2 separate regions of the Homo sapiens genome follow, and region 2 is linked to region 1. The links are contacts of gene promoters, found by promoter capture Hi-C in blood cells and fetal thymus (Javierre and others, 2016). All regions are on one chromosome and are shown on one strand. The core of a region is centred on a gene start or on the middle of the fragment in contact, and the rest is flanking DNA. Distances in the headings are between cores, read along the strand shown.

Region 1 (3,845 bases), core at 1-2,500:
TCTATCCACTTCCCCTTAGATTATGTAGTCAAACAGTTCAATCCAGGTCAGTACTTTTTCACAACGTATGTTTTCAATCTGATCAAAGCTATAGGTAGACGAAAGTTATTGCAATTTCATGGGGTTTACAATTTCCATAAAGAACAAACCTGCTCTAGAAGACAAAATTCCAAAAACTTCTGAACTATATCCAATCAAGCATTATCTCCTCTCCCAAGAGAGACCTTCCAGCACTCCCCGCCTGGGTCTCGGGAATAGCCCTCCCTTCTGAATCCCAGTTTCTCAATCCGGACCCTGAATCCTATTCATCCTGATCTCTCCTTGATTTTCTTGCATCTTAAAGGTGTTATTTTCCTTTCTTTAAAAATTTAAAAAAAAAAAAAAAAGCCACAACTCGCCTCCACGCTCAGATTACCATTTTCTTTTTCCTCCTTTTCATCACCAAACGGCTGAGGAGGTCTACCAGTACCCTCACCACCGCCACGTCCCCATCCCTCACCCACTCTGGAACACTTTGCAACAGTGTGCACACCCACCCACTGTTGATAACTACTCTCCTAAGGCTACCAACCCATAGGCCTCTCCTCGATGCAGAGTCCTTTGGACTTTGTCTGTTTTTTTTCAAACCAAGAATTAACAGCCCTTATCTAATGGAAGACAGAACATCAAGGGATACAGATCAACAAACACTGGATGGCTGTCTCCGAAGTCTTTTATAATCCAGGTGACCAACCCCTTTGGAGAAAGGTCAAAGGTCGCCGGCCCCTCGCAGGACTGGGGCTGGTGTCAGCTGATCAGTTTCCCCGTTGAAACGCTGGAGAAGGAGGGTTTCCAGGAAGAAGGGGCTTTTTCAGGTTGATGCACCCGGCGGAGAAGTGCTGGGGGCGACCCCGGAATCGTGACCTGGGGTATGAATGAGCCCTGGATTTTTTCCTACCCGGCAGCACCTCGTCTGGCTCCCCCGGCCCGCAGCAGAGGCGGCGCCGCGCGGAACGCCAGCACCTGAGCCGGTGCCTCCCGCCAGGCTCGGCCTCCGTAGGCCCCCGGCCCGGCCCACCGCTCCGGCTGAGGCGGGACTGCCCCACGGACGCCGCCACGTCATCCCCACGCCCGCCCCGCTACAGCCCTGGGACTGACCCCGGCCGTCGCCCGGCTACCCTCGCACGGCGCCCGTGTCCAGGGAACTGCATTTCCCGGGCGCCGGCGGAGCCAGCGTACTCACCCCGGAGGCGGCCGCGGCGAGCTAGCACTGCCCGCGGAGAGGGGAGAACGCGGAAAGCAGCTCGGGGACCGCCCCAGCCGCCCGGGAGGCGGCTCTTGAGTACGAGCTCCGCCTCCCGCCTTGGCCGGAGAGGCTGGTCCGCCCGGCTCTGCACGCGCCTGGCGCTCCACCCCCGCCAAATCGACCACACCGGGCGCTGGAAGGAGCACCGGGAGGGAAACGGAGGGTTGACGCCTCGGCCTCTGGGTGGCTTTAAAACCCTGTGCCAATAGTAGACTGGGTGCTGAGCGCTTCCCAAATTCCATCCCCTTAAATACTCACAAAGCAGTAGGAAAGAGATAGGGACCCTTCCATTTTACAGAGTGGGAAACTGAGACTTTAGAGAGGCTAATAAACTTAATCACCCTGCGAGATTTCAGCCCTCTCAACTGCAAAAATGATAATAATAATAATAATATTTTTCCCATGTTGCAGGTCTGAGAATATTAAATGATTTTTTTAAATCCGTATTTCTTCAAAGATATTATTACAGAAAGCAAAGACAATTATATTTACACTAAAGATTTGAGTGAAAAATTATGGTAGGCTCTGTTTAGGCAGTCAGGATAGCTAGATTCTCTAATGCAGTCTCCCACTGCACTCACGGGAAAGTAGTAGATTCTCCAAGAACCACACATCCACTCCACCCAAAAAGGAACAAACCATAGCTAGAGCCAGTGCTGGGCTCATTAAGCTTCATAGCAGGAAATCTGAGGCTATACTGAGGCCGCATAGGCCCAATGTAGGCCCTTGGAAGCTGGAAAAGAGGGCCACCTAGTGGCAGTTGAGGATAGGTCAGTGAAATAGGTCAACACTGCTCCTGAACAAGGTCCAGTGTGAAACTTATTTTTTTGTGTTCCCTTTGTAACATGCTGTAAGGGTGTATAACCACATTTAGTGAAAAAGGACATTACTGGATTTCATCCAGTGGCGTTATACAATCAGTTACTTATACCCACATAGTCCCCAGGTCTTGAGCATATGATGCCTGGAAGCATAATATATACCTTTTGCAAGAATCACTCAGCTTTTCCCCTCCCCCTCCCCCTCTCTGTCTCCCTCCCCATCTCCCTCCCCCCTTTGCACGGTCCTCGTCTCCCCTTTGCATGGTCTCCCTCTGATGCCGAGCCGAGGCTGGACTGTACTGCCGCCATCTCGGCTCACGGCAGCCTCCCTGCCTGATTCCCCTGCCTCAGCCTGCCGAGTGCCTGGGATTGCAGGCGCGCACCGCCACACCTGACTGGTTTTCGTATTTTTTGGTGGAGACGGGGTTTCGCCGAGTTGGCCGGGCTGGTCTCCAGCTCCTGACCGCGAGTGGTCTGCCAGCCTCGGCCTCCCGAGGTGCCGGGATTGCAGACGGAGTCTCGCTCACTCAGTGCTCAATGTTGCCCAGGCTGGAGTGCAGTGGCTTGATCTCGGATCGCTACAACCTCCACCTCCCAGCCGCCTGCCTTGGCCTCCCAAAGTGCCGAGATTGCAGCCTCTGCCCTGCTGCCACGCCGTATAGGAAGTGAGGAGCGTCTCTGCCTGGCCGCCCATCATCTGGGATGTGGGGAGCCCCTCTGCCCAGCCGCCCAGTCTGGAAAGTGAGGAGCGCTTCTTCCCGGCCGCCACCCCGTCTAGGAAGTGAGGAGCGTCTCTGCCTGGCCGCCCATCATCTGGGATGTGGGGAGCGCCTCTGCCCCACCACCCCGTCTGAGAGGTGAAGAATGCCTCTGCCCGGCGGCGACCCGTCTAGGAACTGAGGAGTGTCTCTGCCCCGCCGCCACCCCGTCTGGGAGGTGAGGAGCGTCTCTGACTGGCCGCCCTGTCTGAGAAGTGAGGAGCCCCTCCGCCGGGCAGCTGCCTGGTCCGGGAGGTGGGGGGCAGCCGCCCAGCCAGCCGCCCCGCCCGGGAGGTGGGGGGGCAGCCCCCGCCTGGCCAGCCGCCCCGCCCGGCAAGTGGGGGGCAGCCCCCGCCCGGCCAGCCGCCCCGTCCGGGAGGTGGGGGGCGCCTCTGCCCAGCCGCCGCCCCGTCTGGGAGGTGGGGGCCCCTCTGCCCGGCCGCCGCCCCGTCTGGGAGGTGGGGGGCCCCTCTGCCCGGCAGCCCCGTCTGGGAAGTGAGGAGCCCCTCTGCCCGGCCACCACCCTGTCTGGGAGGTGTACCCAACAGCTCATTGAGAACGGGCCATGATGACGATGGCGGTTTTGTCCAATAGAAAAGGGGGAAATGTGGGGAAAAGAAAGAGAGATCAGATTGTTATTGTGTCTGTGTAGAAAGAAGTTGACATAGGAGACTCCATTTTGTTCTGTACTAGGAAAAATTCTTCTGCCTTGGGATGCTGTTAATCTATAACCTTACCCCCAACCCCCTGCTCTCTGAAACATGTGCTGTGTCCACTAAGGGTTAAATGGATTAAGGGCAGTGCAAGATGTGCTTTGTTAAACAGATGCTTGAAGGCAGCGTGCTCGCTAAGAGTCATCACCACTCCCTAATCTCAACTACCCAGGGACACAAACACTGCGGAAGGCGGCAGGGCCCTCTGCCTAGGAAAACCAGAGACCTTTGTTCACATGTTTATCTGCTGACCTTCCCTCCACTATTG
Region 2 (3,808 bases), core at 1,179-3,678, 300 kb before region 1:
GAGCTGTTTTGTATAGACAAATTGCTCCTGAAATGTATGTACAAAAGTGAATATTAGAATAGAATAATTTTCAAGAAAAAAAGTAAGTTATAAAGTAATATAGATAAAGTAGCATTGGAATAAGGACATATAGAGAGTCCAAAAATTGATTCATACATAAATGGGCAATTGATTTCCAACAAAGTTGTCAAAGCCATTCAGGGGGAAAAGTTTACTCTTTTTGAAAAACTGCACTGGGGGAAAAAATAATCTCCATATGCCAAAAAAAAAAAAAAAAACACCTCTACCCTTATTTAATACTTTATATAAAAATTAACTCAAAATAGATAAAAAATTTAAACATATCAATAAAACTATAAAACTTCTGGAAGAAAACACAGGAGAAATTCTCTATGACTCTGGGTTAGAAAAAGCCTTCTGGAATAGGATACAAAATGCATTAACCACTTAAAAATGGGTAAGACCTCATCAAAATTATTGTTTTGATAATAAAACAATAATAAAACAAGGTAAGTTTCTTGTCTTCAAAAGACACTATTAAGAAAATAAAAATACAAGCCATAGGTTGGGAAAAAATATTTTCAAAACACAAGTTCTTGTATTTATAATATCTAAAAACTCTTAAAATTCAACAAAACAAACAGTCCAATTTTTTAAATGCACAAAAGATTTGAACAGACACTTCACTATGCATAGAAAGTATACAAATGAGTAATAACATCCTGAAACGATGCTCCACTTCATTAGTCAACAGGGAACTTAAAACCACATTGAGATAATACAAAACATCAACTAGAATATATTATATTAACACGACAATGCTAAGTGTTGACGAGAATGTAGAACAACTAACTCTCATACATTTCTGAAGGAAATGAAATGTAGTACAGTCATTTGGAAACATTTTCATATTTTATTACAGAATTAAATGTACACTTAACTATACAATCTAGCAATTCCAATTCTAGATATTTATGCAAGACAAGTAAAGATACAGATCTACAGAAAAACCTATATGCAAATGTTCACTGCATCTTTATTTGTAATAGCCAAAATACCAGACACAACTCAAATGCCCATCAACTTGCAAATGGATAAAACAATTGTGACACAGCCATTTAATGAAATATTACTTATGAACAAAAAAAACCTCAAACTTCTGATATATGCAAAATGACTAAATGTTAAAGCTATTGTGCTAAGTGAAATAATCCAGAAACAAATGGCTATATACTGCATGTATCCATTAAAAAAAAATCTACGGAGAAAGCAAAACTATACAGGCAGAAAACAAAGCAGCAGTTGCCAGATGCTGGAGCTGGGACTGAGGGTTAAAGTTTGGCAGAGAATACTACATAGGGCATAAGGGAAGTCCTTGGAGTTACAGAAATAGTGTACATCACGGTTATGGTAGTGAACACAAGACGAGACATTTGTCAAAACATAGCAAACTATATACCTAGACAGAGGGATTTTATTGTATGTAAGTTATACTTTAAAAAAATGTTTTTTTAGAAAAAGGTATGTTGGGAAGCTCACAGAATCATGGAAATGGCTTGAAAAACAAATTAAGGGCTAATCTTCCAGGAAAACATCCATAACTATACTGTAAAACTGGCTTAAGAAAATTGCTGCAACTGTCCCTGTCACCAAACCCCAAATGCCAAAACTTTACTGCAACTACGAATGATGTCCCAGTGCTATATCAGGCACTTAACCCTACAACACTACCATCCTGCAAAGCCATACTCTTATGCTGCTATCTGTGCTAGCAATAGAAGCTCAACATAGAACTTGTTCTGTCACGTTTCTTCTTTCAAGTTTCTTCTTTCAAGTCAGGGCCAGAGACTCTCTATGTGAATCTGACTGAAGGGCCGAAGTCCAAGCTACACAAGAGGCCAGAAATTTAAGTTCTCATTTCTAACACTGGGGAGGTAGACTCATAATGTGGGAATTCCTCCAAATAGAAATACTATTCAAAATATGATTTGTCAGCCATGAATACGACTATGCTGACTACAGCAAGCAACAAATGAAAACAATAACAATTATGTCTTTCTCCTTCTTCTCTCCTACCTCTTCTAAGCCTATCTTTGTCAAGTTGTCTGTGTATTCCTTTATCTTGTCGGCTTTGCAGGGTGAAAAGATGAAACTACTGAAGACCAACAGGCTTCCTGTCTCTTGTGAAGCCTATGCTCACTGAGGAAGCTACAGTGGGGCAGAGGAGGTAGGAGGGGCTGCCTTTGAGCCTGATAAAGGAGAAAAAATACTACTGGGAGGGGAATGGAAGTTGGCCAAGTTCCTTGACAAGAGGAGATGCATGCTCTCCTTTGCTCAGAGGACAAAGGAAATAATGGTGCCTCAAAGAGTATGGCTGTCCTGGAGACTGGAGCTCTGGTCATCACAACATTCCATGTGTCCTACAAGGCACAGAAGCTGCAGAGCAACACAAAGGATCCTGCGGGCTTGAACAAGGGGCTCGAACAAAAAGCAGTTACTCCACAGAAGACCAGAGGGGTCCTCCCAGCATTGTGGCTCTGTAAGACAGACTGCAGCATATAGAGGGGAGCCTCAATAATTGATAATTATCACAATGATTTTTTTAAAAAGGGGTCTCAGATTTGAATTCAACTTGACATTTTAAAAAACAGATAGACATTTCTTACAAAACTTTGTGGAGCCTAGAAATGATGAGTAAAGTTTAAAAATAAATCTTAATGCCCTAAGCATTATATAAGGACTTTAAAAAAGATCTCTGTGCTTTCAAAAATTTCAGAAATCATAGTTTAAAGACAAGGCAGGGAATGGGCAGAGAAAACTGACAGAATCTAGGGGCTATTTTTTCGCTATTTCAGGATTGTCTTTTATTACAATGATAACCCTCTAGCCAAATCTGAACTTCCATGTGACTGGCCTTTTTCAGAGAAAATAAAATTTCTTGCTGCTTAGCTTTCTAAAGGACTTCTGAAAATCTAGGCTTTTAACTTGGATAATGAATAGGGTGAGAAGAATGTATTTTTCTTTCCTGTATACAGAACACTCTCTGACATTGTGATGCTATAGTTGCATGTCCTTATCAGTCTGGTTACTACATTGAGATTTATATTGGGAAATGCTATCTAGAGTTTCCAGATGGCAAGAGGCCAGATAAAGGGCCTTTGCTGTTAAATACAACCATGTACTCTCAACTTCACCACTTGGTTGAATATAGCTCTACTTGGCTATAATGAGCAAGCTCCATTTGTTTAATGAAGCATTCATATGACAAAAGTGGCTAAATCAACAAGTAGAGTTATTTATGAACAAATAAAGCCATCTGAAACCATCAGGAAGGATGTTACATTCTGAAACCAATTAAATTCTTTTTAAAAATGGCTCAACTGAAATATTTTATTCTTGTTCACCAGTAACACTGCTTCTTTCCAAATTAAACACTATTTTTAAAATTTTTCTTGATTTTTAGATATGTTTGTGTTAGTACTAATTTAACTTCTAACTAGTTTAAAGCATTCTTCAGTTTTTAACATACAAATATTTTAAATGTGGAAGTAAAGAGTTTGGTTATCCTTTTAGAAGTTCTCTTGAAGTCTAGGAATAGAGATAGAGGTAATATGGCATCATCATTAGGTTCTAATACAATGTATCTAGGTTTACTTTCTATGACCTTCAAGGCTCTGCTTAATCTGACCTTTGCCTGTTCTTCCAGCCAGTCTTACAGTACTTTCTTCCACAGTGGGCTTTTCTCAGGTTCAGCAACACACTGCACTCTCCCATCTAAGATTTATGTGGTCTATTGCCTTAGCTTGAA

The links. Contacts are between HindIII fragments. The CHiCAGO score rates a contact against its expected background, and 5 or more counts as called.
Region 2: a contact is called between the fragment with the promoter of IGSF11-AS1 here and the fragment with the promoter of B4GALT4 in region 1, in 4 of 17 cell types (non-activated CD4 T cells, naive CD4 T cells, activated CD4 T cells and 1 more). The highest score is 6.8, in non-activated CD4 T cells.

The regions. Positions count from the first base shown.
Region 1 is chr3:119,239,628-119,243,472 of GRCh38, forward strand. It overlaps B4GALT4 (beta-1,4-galactosyltransferase 4), which reads right to left and starts at 1,251. Exons shown (of 8, transcript NM_003778.4): 1 at 1,223-1,251. The region is part of intron 3 of B4GALT4-AS1 (B4GALT4 antisense RNA 1); the gene reads left to right. RefSeq lists silencers at 938-1,417, 2,068-2,117. The HindIII fragment of the contact is 11,429 bases long and covers 1-1,953 here.
Region 2 is chr3:118,940,648-118,944,455 of GRCh38, forward strand. IGSF11-AS1 (IGSF11 antisense RNA 1) reads left to right here and starts at 2,429. Exons shown (of 4, transcript NR_046230.1): 1 at 2,429-2,539. All of the region lies in intron 1 of IGSF11 (immunoglobulin superfamily member 11), which reads right to left. The HindIII fragment of the contact is 7,141 bases long and covers 1-3,808 here.